Regions from separate parts of the Homo sapiens genome. Here region 1 is linked to region 2. The links are contacts of gene promoters, found by promoter capture Hi-C in human tissues and cell types (Jung and others, 2019). All regions are on one chromosome and are shown on one strand. The core of a region is centred on a gene start or on the middle of the fragment in contact, and the rest is flanking DNA. Distances in the headings are between cores, read along the strand shown.

Region 1 (6,895 bases), core at 1,839-4,338, 300 kb before region 2:
TGTACATGTGTGTTGTGTGCGTTTCCATTGTTTATCCTCTTCAATTTCATATATATATAATATATTTTACCATGTTGGCCAGGATGGTCTCAATCTCTTGACCTCATGATCTGCCCTCCTTGGCCTCCCAAAGTGCTGGGACTACAGGCGTGAGCCACCGCGACCGGCCTCAACTTTTGAAAAGAATGAAATTCTGTCATTCATGGTAACATGGATGGAACTGGAGGACGTTATGTTAAGTGTAATTCACAAGGAACAGAGAATTAAACATCACATGTTCTCACTCATATGTAGAAGCTAAAAAAAAGTTGATCTCATAGAAATAAAAAGTAGACCAGAGGATACTAGAGGCTGGGAAGGGTGGTGAGAAGGCAGGGATAGGGAGAGATTAAAGGATACAAAATTACAGTCAAATAGAAGAAATAAATTCTGGTGTTCTTCCACTGTAGGATGACTACAGTTAACAATACATAGTTTTATATAGGTAGAAGGAGGATATTGAATGTTCCCAACACCAAGAAATAATAAATGATGATAGATATGCTAATTATCCTGATCTGATCACTATACTTTATATGTATTGCAACACCACTGTGTATCCCATAAATATGTGTAATTATTATGTCAATTTAAAAAATAAAAGGAAAAGTTGGTTTTCAAAGTTTTGTCTGTCAGATACATGATTTTAATAAATGAAACACTAAAGTACAAATAGTTATAAGTTTTTCACTGGTGCAGAAAGGGCCTTGGAGATTTTTTGAATTAATTAACATAAATCTGATGCTGCAAAAACTGTCCAAATTAGTGTTTCAAGGAGTTTTGTTTTTTTTTCTAATAGTGAGAAATATTCTTTACCATAAAAATTGAGATATGCTGCATTTTATTTTACTGATGACTTCTTTTTCACAGAATTACATGCAGTTGTTAGAATTCAAATATCTTACCCCACAGATGGAGAAGGGCAGGAATTGTGACATTTCGTTTTCATAATTATTAATATAAATTAATTTGGTTATTCAGCGTTTGAAGTATTTGAGATTTTCTGTGTCTTTATCTTGTTTATGCAGATGTGCACCTCCTTAAGGGAACAATTGTATTTGCAAAATGCACCACTTGCTGGCTAGATAATGATGATGACAATGATTAAGAAAGATGTTATTGAACTATGTTGCTGGGCATGTGTTTGAGCCATGTTTGAGCCCGAGGCATATTAGTGCACTTGAATCTGGAAGGACCTGGTGCAAAATTATGAAGTAGAAGAAGCTGATCCAGCTCATAGGATGATAGAAGCAACGTTTTCTAAAATACATGACTTAATGGGCATATTTTAATTATATTTTCAATTTAGATTGAAAAGCATAGGCATTACTTGTTCAGTCACATGCCCTTTTTTGTAAGAGCTCTTAAACAATAAGAGCCTTAAGTGCAATACAAAAGAATAGACACCTCCTATAATCAATATGTTTTACATATCAAGAATCCTAAAAATTGAATATGAATGTTTCTTCTGCTTACCCCAGGAGCCAACCAGGAGCTGTCTGTTCAAAAAGAGACTAGTGTCTTAATTGTTACAACTATGACATCTTTTTATTCCTCTGAGAGAGCACCAATCTCAGCAAAGACGTCACTCCTCAAATTGCCGTGACAGGCTTCTCTCAGATGCAAACAGCTATCAATGTTTATGACTTCCAAAATAAGTTGCCCTTTGAGTCTAGGGCATACTAGTACACTTAAATACAGAAGGGCCTTGTGCAAGAGTATAAAATAGAAGAAGTTGTTCTGTGTCCTTTTTTTCTCCTTTGGCCATCTTCTTTTACCCTCGAAAGATGCCCAGGCTGATGTGCTCTCCCTTCTTCTCCCTTACAAAACCTATTCTCTGGAAATTACTGATGCCTAACACATTTTCTACTAGAAAAGTGACTGTATTTCTTACTACCTTTCTTATACAGGATTTCGATTCTTGAAGTTTCTGTTTGTCCTAGATGACTGGCACAATGACAAGGCCATATCTATTAAACTTTGAATAAAAAATATATTATGCTGTATGATAATAGCAGAAAATCAAGGGGGCTTCAAGTACTTCATGTGTTTCTGAATAAATTGTGGTCTGTTGTTTCAAATAAAACAAGACTTATCATTTATATTAAGCTCCTGTTAGTTTCTACCAAATTCTTTCTTATTCAAGGATCAGGTTTTGTTCTGATACCAGATTCTTCCCATGCATCTCAAAAAATTTCTGATGCTAAAGATACAGTCAATATATCTTAAGGAGACAATTGTGAGATTAAACATTCTAGAACCTAAGATATATGGAAAGCATTTGAAGAACTAGATTTTTAAAAACATTAACAAGGGTTTCTACGTTTTCATTTTCTATTGGGCCTTGCAAATTATGTAGCCAGATTGACAAAAGGTAACACAGTGCATTCTAACAACAATGATTAATTTTGCCTGTTTTTAGACTATATATAAATGTATTTATATATATAGTATATACTTTTCCTGTATCTGGCTTCTTTCACTCAACAATTCACAAATTTCATGAATTTGTGAAATTTGTCTATATTATTGTGGGTATTTATAGATTATTCTATATTATTATGTGTATTTATAGATTATTAACTCTCTCTATTGTAGACCACTGATTTTTAGGCTTTAGTGTGCTTCAGAAGCATCTGGAGGGCTTGATAAACCAGATTTCTGAGCTTTACCCCCAGAGTTTCAGTTTCAGTAGAACTGGGGCGAAGCCCAAGCATTTGCCTTTCTAACAAGTCCGTGAGTGATACTGATGCTACTGGCCTGGGGACTACATCTTGAGAACCACTGCTATAGAGTATGCCATATGTGAAAATACCATGATTTACTTATCCATGCTACTATTGGTGGATATTTGACTATGGATAGCCTTTTTAAAGCTGTATTCATTTATTTATCCTTGATTATATCAATTTATTCTAATTATATTATTTAACACCTGTATCAAACATCAATGTCCTAGGACCAGAAATATGAAGATTCCTGCACCCAGGAATAGGTGGTCTAGTTAGAGAGACAGAAAATAAACAGATAATTTCAAAACAATAATAAATTCCATGTTGGGAGTATACGTGTGGTGCTTTGGTAACACAGGGAAGGGAGAAAAAATCAGAATGATGGAGATGGTGGAAAAATATCTTAGCTGAAATAACCACTGAGCTGAATTTGGAGTTGGAGTGTTAGCTATGGGGGAGAGATAATTTAGGCAGAGGGAAGCTTTGTGGAAGCTTAGGTGGGTGATTGGTAGGCCACATTTAGGGAATTACAGCAGTTCCATATGGCAGGAACGTAGAGATAGTCAGAAGAGAGAGAGAGCGAGAGAGAGAAAAAAAAGGAATATGTCTTGAAATGACCAATTTAGTAGACTGGAAGTACAGCATTTGGTATATGAATATGCTTCATAATCTAAATTTACATGAAACTAATGACGAGTATAGATATGCCTTACTTTAAGCCCATATAAATAAATCTAACTCCTCTCATTAAAAAAGATGATCAGTTAGATTTCTAAGTATTCCTCTGCTACATTTAAAATGAGAAAAAAATTTACTTTCCAAAATGGATTTATGTGTCATTTTTTTAAACAAGATGCACATTATCTTACCTTTCTAAAAAAAACTGTATAAGTTTATATAGGATAACAATAATATAATTATAATATTTACTGAATGGTAAGCATTAAACTCATTTAATCCTACCTAGAATCCCATGAGACATTTATTATTATTATCATCTCTATTTAATATATGAGAAGATAAAGTATGGAAAGTTTAAATAATTTGGCAAAGGTCACTCAATAAATGACTGATTTCAAACTAATTCCAAGACCACTTCATTAATCACCACGTCTCTTCCCCTTGCTGTTCCATATTAAGCATGGCAAGCTAGAGATGTGGTTTAGATTTATGAGATGATCATCTGGACAGGATCTACAGGGCTTATTCACTGAAGTAATCCCTACTTTGCCTTCATAGAGCCAATAGGCAAGACAGATATAAACACAAGGGTGTACCATAAAGTCTTACTGGTAACATTTGGGCACAAATGAATCAGAGCTCAATTCTATTTGGTGAAAGCAGTGGAAGTATGCAGAAGGAATTCCAAAAGAAGAGGTTTGAGTCCCCCAATCATGTAGGTGTTTGGGAAACAAGTGGAAAAGGCCTCTAGCCAGGGGAAACAGTTTGAACAAAAGTATTGTATATTCTGGGAACTGAAAATAGTTCCATCTAGTTTAGGCTGAGGCTGAATATGGAGGAGCTGCATAAATGAAACTGGAAAGGTGAGTGAGATTACCTAATGAGGGACCTTATATGATATATGAAGTCATGGGGTAATTTATAATAATGAGGAGGGAAAGGTTATCAGGGAGTCATATGACCAGATTTGCATTTTTAACGATCACTGAGAAGGTAGTAGAAGGATGGATTGGAAGAGGGCAGGGAGACCATCTAAGAATTATCATTGTAATTTAAGCCTTTAATTAGTATTCAGAATCAGTAGATACATTTTTCCAAATTTCTGGCCAGAATACACTAAGTGATTGATATATTTTCAGTTAAGCATTCTTAAGCACAGTACAGTGTTAATCTGTTTATGCCTATCATGTTTATTACCTATAAAAGACAATGATAAAAATGTCATTTGACTGCAATTCCTCACTTGAAATCACAATGTCACCAAAAAAGAAAAATTATACAATAGAGCTACAAAAAATATTGTAAAATTACAAGCTTAAATAAATTGAACTAAATACAGACAAATTCTTTCAACTTGATTAATTTGCTCTCAGATTACAGAGAACTTCTAAAGGAGAAGGTCTATGTAGTCAAGAAATAAAAGTAATGATGTTTCATTGATTATGGCCAATTAAAGGGCCATTACTAGATGCTGAGCCCCTTGTGGGCAGAATTTTTAAAAATTCAGATATATGAATACTAATTACAACCATGGTAATAATAATATTGGTAACTGCCATCCATTAAGTCCCCACTATAAAGTTGTTGTTTCATGTGTATTATCTCATTTAAGCCATATACATATACCAACTCTATGAAGCAGGTGTCATTATTTCCACTTTAGAATAGGAAAATTGAGGCTCAAATAATTTATCCAAGATCATGTAGTAAGTGAAAAGCAGGGGTTTAAATTCCAAATAAATGTTATCTAGGAACTCATGTCCTTAACTGTTAAATTTCTACAATCTATCACTCCCTTAGATTGCTACTTGGTAGAAAGTCAATGTTTAATAAATGTCTGCCTTGGAAATACTTAAAAATAACAATACATGGTAACAAAAATTTATAAGCCCTAAAGGACTTGTTTTAATAGTGGAGAATAGATGGGAATAATATGTAATTAACAGAATGATATCTTATGCATAAAGAGATGAATGTAAATTTTGAAAATTCAAACCTAAGGGGGTAGACAAAAATAGGTAGTATATGGAGCTGATTTTCAGACAGTTGGAAAACTAAGGCTAAAAGGAAAGAAAAATGTAATGGGAATGTGCACATCAAAGACAAGGACAAGGGAGAAATAATAAGAGGAAGATTTGTGTTTGGTGGGGTCTGTGACATTCCATCAACAATTGCCTCAGGTGCTGTTCATCATTAGAGAGAAGATCCCTCACATAACCTAACAAACAGAAATTATTCCTACCACTTCAAAATTTATGTATTATTTTAGCAGTTTTTAAAAGCTGAAGTCATGGGTGATTGAGTTTAGTCTCTCAGTATTATTCAGGGTATGCTAACTGATGTAACAAACTATTTCAAAATCTAAATGGTACAAACAACCAAAGTTTAATTCTTGCTCATCTTACATTATATAGGCATGGGGGTTGAGGAGAACTCTGTCCCATGCAGTTACTTCAGTGGTCCAGGCTTCATTTACTGTAATCACTATTCCCTAGGACTTCAAAAGCCTGCAATGGATCCTCCACATCCGGTCAACAGTTTAAGATAAAATAAAAGAAAGTGAGGACACTCATGTAAGCTTTTGGTGGCCACATATGGAGGTGATATGCATTCCGCTCATACTCCAATTGGCCACACTCAGTCCTATGGCTCACCTAATTGTAGGGGAACTCTGATAGTAGCTTAGCAGAATATTAAAAAAAAAAATAGAGAGCAAAGATCAGTGAACAATTAGTCAGTTCCACCCTCCCTAATTATATTGTTAACTCCTAAGGGATATAAATAGTGTTTTATAGTCATTTATATGCCCAGTAACACCTAATAGAATTTCTGGCATATAATAATCTGTCAACTAATTGCTAAATGAGTGTATAAACTCTCTAGCTCATTCCTTAGCTTTGAGGCTATTTAAAGACCTTCATAGGTCCTAGGCACTCTTGCTTTAGAGGCCCACACCTGAGTAATATCAAAATAACAACATATACTCAGATGCCATTAAATATAATTCTATTGGCAAGATTAAAATAACATTTAAAATATGATTTTGAAATTATTTGACTACTATTGAATGGCAGAATTGATCAGAAATAAATGTATTGCATTGAAGAAGAGAAGCATATCAAGGCTTGCTAGGCAAAATAAAATGCATTGTTAGTAAATACAAGAAAAAATCGTATAGGTTGGAAATATCATGTTAACACCATACAAAATGTGGAGAAAAAAATGGAAAATGCAGTGTTCATGCCTTTGAAAGAAGAGTAAGCCAAGAACACGGTTGGATTTTGACCCAATGGAGGAGAAGATCTAAGAGTAAGCTACACAATACCCGTTCTGATTAACTTAGTAATTATACTGTATATCATAACACTTTTATAAAGAGAAATGACCCTATGAAAATAAATTAGTAATTAAACGTGGAATCACACATGAACCACTCCCCAGCC
Region 2 (6,069 bases), core at 363-2,862:
ACATATCTCTATTTTCAGGGTAAAAAAAATAAGTTTTTTATACAGAGTTTAGACATGAAAAAACTGATGTCCAAAGTAGTAAAAGGAAATTGTCCAAGGGTAACTACTAGTGGAATCTAATAGGAATCCATGTCTCCTGCTTACAGGTCTTAGTCCTTTTGTGTTTGTTTGGTTGGTTGTTTTAGGACCTCAGATGCATTGAATTGGTTCATTTCACATCCTTTTGTTCATTTCACATTCTCCTCATTAGTCCATACATGGTTCTATTTTATTTAGTTACACAGTAATTTTTAATAGGATATTAGGTGTCCTATGAATCACTACCCGGCATAGAAGATAAGACATTAACATCTAAACTTCAAGTGAAATGCTTCCCCATCTATTTCCCTGCCTCCCTTCACCCAGGGTCACCAACACTCTGAACACTATATTCATTGTTCCACTGCTTTCCTTTTTATATTGTTGTATATGAATATATGAATACACATTGACATTTCTAGGGATTTTTTAAACTTTATAAAAAGCATATTATGCTATATGCAATATTTTGGGGATATCATGCTGTACATAATATGAGGGGCCTGTAGAATTGGAGATGTTTTTACCAACAAAATTAGGTAATCACAGTATACACCACCCCGTGGTGTGTGTGTATATATGAACATTTATTGTGTAGACACATCAAACTACCCAGTCTCAACTTGAGACATATTTAAATGCACTCTTCATATATGTGTGTATGTGTGTGTAAGTGTATAGTAGTAAAGGTCTATTCATTCAGCAAATATTTATTGTGTGCCTGCCATGTGTCAGGAAGTACTAAATACCTTACTGTGCACACACGTGCAAAACCAAGTGCAACACTCCACCCCCCTAAAAAAAAGTCCCTGATCTCATGGAAATAACATTGTACAGAGGGAGAGACAGACAGTACATAAAATAAATATGGAAAATATAAAGGATGTTAGGTGATGTTACGTGCTAGGGAAAAAAATAAAACATGCCAGATCCTCAGGGACTAGGGTTTGCCGTTTTAAATAGAATGCTCGGCGATGAACTGGGGATGAGGGGAGCGGGGAGTCTTTATTTAACGGGTGATACGGACGTAACTTTCGAGAGCTGAATCAGAACCGAAGTAAACTCTTCGGCAACCCCTGCACTCAGCCTATAATGTCTGTAGGATAACAGGCTCAGCCGCGGTGGATGGCCCCCGGAGAGACGATGCATGTCTTCCCGCCTTTCTTCCGGCCGGCCATCCTCTCCGCTAGAATCGCCCTGCCCGCCGACGCCGCACCTGAACGCCGCGCTGCTGCGGGCGTTGTACACCAGCGCGACCACCGCCTGCCGGCACCTCGCCTTGCCGCCGCGCGCGCGCAGCCCCGAGGACGCGCTCGGGGAGCGCGCACCGCCCGGGGCCGCCCTCGGGCCGCTCCCAGGCCCCTGGGAACGCGCGCGCGTGCCCGGTCCCGCGGCCTCTCGGCAGGCACGCGGCTGGGAGAACGGCGCGCGCCCCGCTCGGCAGCTGCGGCGGCGGCTGGTGTAGGCGCTCACGTCAGGGCTGGGAGGAGGGGGTTCGCAGCTCAGAGAGAGAGAGACATGAGGCAACCTGGCAGGAAGCGAGAAAGAGTTCGGCGAAGAAGGAGTGAGTTCTAGAGACGCCCCGCGAGCAGGACCCGCGCCTGCAGGAGAGCCTGGCCGACCCGGCTCCTCGCCTTCTCTGCGCGCTCTCCCGCGTCCGCTTTCAGCACCCCGAGCGGAGAACAGTTCCCGGCAGCCCGCAGCGCTGCCGAGTGGCCGCCGGCCGGCCGAGTACCCGGAGCTCCAGGGGGCTCAGGAGCACCCTCTGAGAACCCGCTGTGCACCCACCTTTTCCCCTCTTTTGGTGGGCAAGTAAGCACGGGGGAAAAGCATCCGGTGGCCTCAGGGAGCCCTGAAGAAACCGAAGCAGAATGTACCAGGGACACATGCAGGTAAGACATTTCTATAGGGCTGGAGAGAATTCTTGGGGGCTAATTTAAGAGCAAGGCGGTTCACCAAGTTTCTGTGGTCAAGTGCTGCCTTCGCACAGCTCAACAAGTGAAGTGATGCAACATGACCGTGACATTTCTGTCCGGTGCTGCCGGGAAAACTAGACCGGTTTCCGAAGGTGGGAGAAGGGGAGGGAAGACCTCAGAACTTCGATTGGGGAAGTTTGTTTTCTGTGCATTCCCTGAGCCTGTTTCTTTAAACAGGATCAAGGAATCGAAACAGAGGAAACCCTAGAGATGACCGTGTTTCCGTTGTAATCCTATTGATGCATCTCAGCATGTATGTCAACTGAAGGGCAAACAATAATAGGAAAGACAAAGCTTTTCCTTTACCATCTGAAAAGGTTGCTTGACTTAGAACACTCTGTCACTTTCGTTTCATTTTTTAAAGTGTTATATTTAAAAAACGATTTATAGTGTATTTTCCCCCTTCACATTATGGGACATTGCCATCTACTCCAATAGTCACAGGATGACTTGGGAGGATGAATTTCAAACACATGTCCAAGGAGCTCTAATGTTTTTCAGGGGAGGTGCTGCCTCCGGTTGTTATTAATATTCATCTGAGCTGAGCCGCTGCTTCTTTCCGATGCAAACACACTCTACTCTCTTGGGCAAGATTACTTTAACCTTGACTCCAGTTCTCATTCATACGGTTGGTTGGTTCTTATAAAGGCAGATATATGCTTTGGGAGAAAAATAAAATACTAACTCAGCTTTCTAAAGTATGAACTGGACTCTTTATCGCACCTAAATGGTTTAGTCATCAGGTTTGATGTTTGGGCTTCCTTTCCATTCCAAAGATGGTCAAATACAATCATTATGTGTGATGCCTTTATCCTGGTGTATAACATTTATGAATACTGAGGATTTTGCTTCTGTGTCTTTTAGAGCAATTGGAAATAGATAAATATGTTGTTATATTTATGACTTAGTACTACCCAGATTTAATTTCCATAACTTAGGGAAATTCTTTTGGACTATAATCCATTTTTAAATAAAACACAATATTTCATCATAGTCTCAATTTTTATAAGAATTCTCAATATACAGTGCCAGAATTCCAAAAGATTTCCCGTATGACTAACATCATCCTGTTTTGAAAATTATTAATGTGATTATATCACATTTGATAGACAAAAAGTAGTGAATGAAGTATATTTTTAAATATTATATATGATCAATGTGATCTGCATGTTTCTTATAAAAGCTACACCAATTGAAAAGTTAAGTAACATAGAAGAATTCAAATAATGACTGCTGAAAAAATTAACAAAGAATTATTACTATAGTTTTATGCTTCATCTTCACCCAAGAATGATACTTACAATTTTATATATTATCTGTTTTTTAAACAGTTTCTTCACAAGGGTAAAACAGGAAGATTTTAATAGAGTCAACCCTCAAAAAATTGTTCATTTACACAAAATTGACAATTGACCACTAAGGGGAAATTAACAAAAACTTTGCACAGTATTGTTTTGTTGCTTAAAAAATATGTTACTGTGAATGAAGAATCGAAGCAACAATATGGTAAATTCATGCACCCAAAAACAATTTTAACTCAATTTTCTCAATATCTCAAAGGAGAATGTTATTGAAACTTGAGTTGCCTGGAACAATGTCTGAGGGTTTAATTTCACTTTGAAAGAATAAACAAAATATAAGACTCTGCATATTCTCCCAACTTAATGTCTTTTGCTTGTGCACTGCTGTAACAGCAAATATGATGACTTGCAGTAAAACTCACAAATCTTTGCTGCCAAGCTTAAATTAAAACATTACTAAATAAAGACTGTAATCAATACATCCACCAAAATTTCAGAGCATAATACTTTTTTCCTACTTACTATTAACCATTAATGTTAAGCATAAAACTTCCGAGGCCTTAGTAGGTACGTTTAGTAGTTATTCAATAGTATGATGATCTGAATGGGCATCTGCTCCCCCCAACAAAAAAATACCTATGACAGATTGATTCATAATATACTTGTTGGCTTACATTTTAAACTCATATCTCTTCCCCCAAAGAATATTATTTAGCCTATGGACAAAATAACGTTTCCTTATCAGAGATACTATCATCTTCCTGTGTGTACCTGACTCTAATCACAGATAAGAAGAAACACATTCCAAACACTCCAAAATGTGTATGATTAAAATCTGAATCCATATTTGGTAAAGTGGACCAGGGATAAGCAGATTTACTAACATTTCTGCCAGCTTTGGAGTTAATTTGAAACATAATGTTACTTGACTGATACCTTAAAACAAGAGTGAAACAGAAATGTTTGCAATCTTTTGCTATGCATTCTAATTCTTCTCTTTTCTGTATCCAAGAGACTTTAAAATAAAGTGCTTTGTAAATTAGCAGTTTGAAGTAGGGGCAGGTGTTCTCAGGAAGACTTAAAAATAGTCTAATTTAAAACTCCTGTGGTGCCTTTGTTTTTGCAACTTAATGATTTTGCAGATAAAGTCTATTAATTCTCATACATATGGCTAATTCATCTGGTTTATGGTAGAATCTGAATTCATTTTAGAAACCGCAGACTTTTAAAAACACACATTTGGTTTGCTCTGCTAGTTCATTAGAAAATAAAAGTTGGCATCTATTACAGATAGAGCATAGAGTAACAGATATTTCTTGGTTTCATAGTAAAAGCCGCAGGTATATTTCTTAGGAGCAGGGTCCTGGAGCTATGTTTTTATCCAGCTGCCTTACCAATTATTTCCAAGGGGAGTTAGTCACCCCAGTAAATGAAGCAAAGGTTGCTTCTTTTGTGACTGTTTTAGATTTACTTATTTTTTTCTTTTGACCAAGGGCACTGATGATGATTGAATATACTTTAGCATCGGTTCTGACAAAACTCTGTTGCTCATTGAGGGCCTATGGTCTTAATTCCACCAATACCTCTGTATGTTCAGGGCTGAGGTGATTATTTGCCTATGTGCATTTGAGTTAACATTTCCAGTTAGAGGAAATTATTACATGTCTCTCAATGTTTTCTTAACCTAGCTGTTTTATTTCTGGGGTGGTATAAATACAGAGAAATATAATTTCAATTTTCTACTAAGATTTTTTGAATTGTTATTGAAGAATCCACAGCAATGGGTTTTTTAATAAAAGAAAGTTATTTCAGAAGGCAATCAAACAAAAAATCTATTTGTAATTGTAACTGATCTTTATTTTAGGCATTCAAAGCAGACTTTTTGACTTATTCAAGCTGTCTGGGGAATCATTCCACACCCTCTAGCTTCACAAGACATAAACTAAGGAAAATTTAAATGACAAAAATTGTAAGATTATTAACAGCCCAAAAAGTAGCCATTTGTTTTCCCCCAGGGGAGTTTTGCATTTGTTTTTCTATATGACTTTACTTAAGATTTTTCTTAAAATCTCTACAAAGGGGAATAGCTTAGGTAATTTAAGTTATGTTAGTACATTAGATCTCGCCCCTGGTGATTTATTTAGGTTCACTAGAAACAAAATACATAAGAAACCAATTGAAGGTAAGACTGTAGAACGTTGTTTTCAATACCCTAAACAGTAGGTTATCATAATTGAGGCCCTCAGCAAAACTGTAAAGCAGATGATATTTATCATGGGTACTTCCACCTCTCTAACAGATCCACTTTTTTCCCTCCTGGTACCACCTTTTTTAATTCTTGAGACAGGGTCTTTCTCTGTCCCCCAGGCTAGAGTGCAGTGGCCCAATCTCGGCTCACTGCTTGCTATGCCTCCCTGGCTCAAGCAATTCTCCCACCTCAGTCTCCCAAGTAGCTGGGACTACAGGTGCATGCCACCATGCCCAGATAATTTTTGTATTTTTTGTAGAGACAGGGTTTCACCATGTTGTCCAGGCTGGTCTTGAACTCCTGAGTTGAAGCGATCCACGCGCCTTTGCCTCCCACAGTGCTAGGATTACAGGCATGAACCGCAGCTCCCGGCTCACCCTTTTCCATCCTGTGTTCTTTCTTTCTTAACCCTTTGCTAAGGCATTAACTGCTAGCAAAGATATGACTAATAGCAATAAACCACCTG

What was found. Contacts are between HindIII fragments. The study calls those that stand out against the background at their distance.
Region 1: a contact is called between a fragment that was not itself captured here and the fragment with the promoter of PEX5L in region 2, in 1 of the 25 tissues and cell types used here (H1 embryonic stem cells).

The regions. Positions count from the first base shown.
Region 1 is chr3:180,336,474-180,343,368 of GRCh38, reverse strand. No RefSeq gene overlaps it. Among named protein-coding and RNA genes, the nearest start is that of LINC02053, 74 kb to the left of the region's middle. The HindIII fragment of the contact is 4,621 bases long and covers 778-5,398 here.
Region 2 is chr3:180,032,480-180,038,548 of GRCh38, reverse strand. It overlaps PEX5L (peroxisomal biogenesis factor 5 like), which reads left to right and starts at 1,612. Exons shown (of 15, transcript NM_016559.3): 1 at 1,612-1,970. The coding sequence starts at 1,950. RefSeq lists a silencer at 1,497-1,546. The HindIII fragment of the contact is 6,291 bases long and covers 1-3,071 here.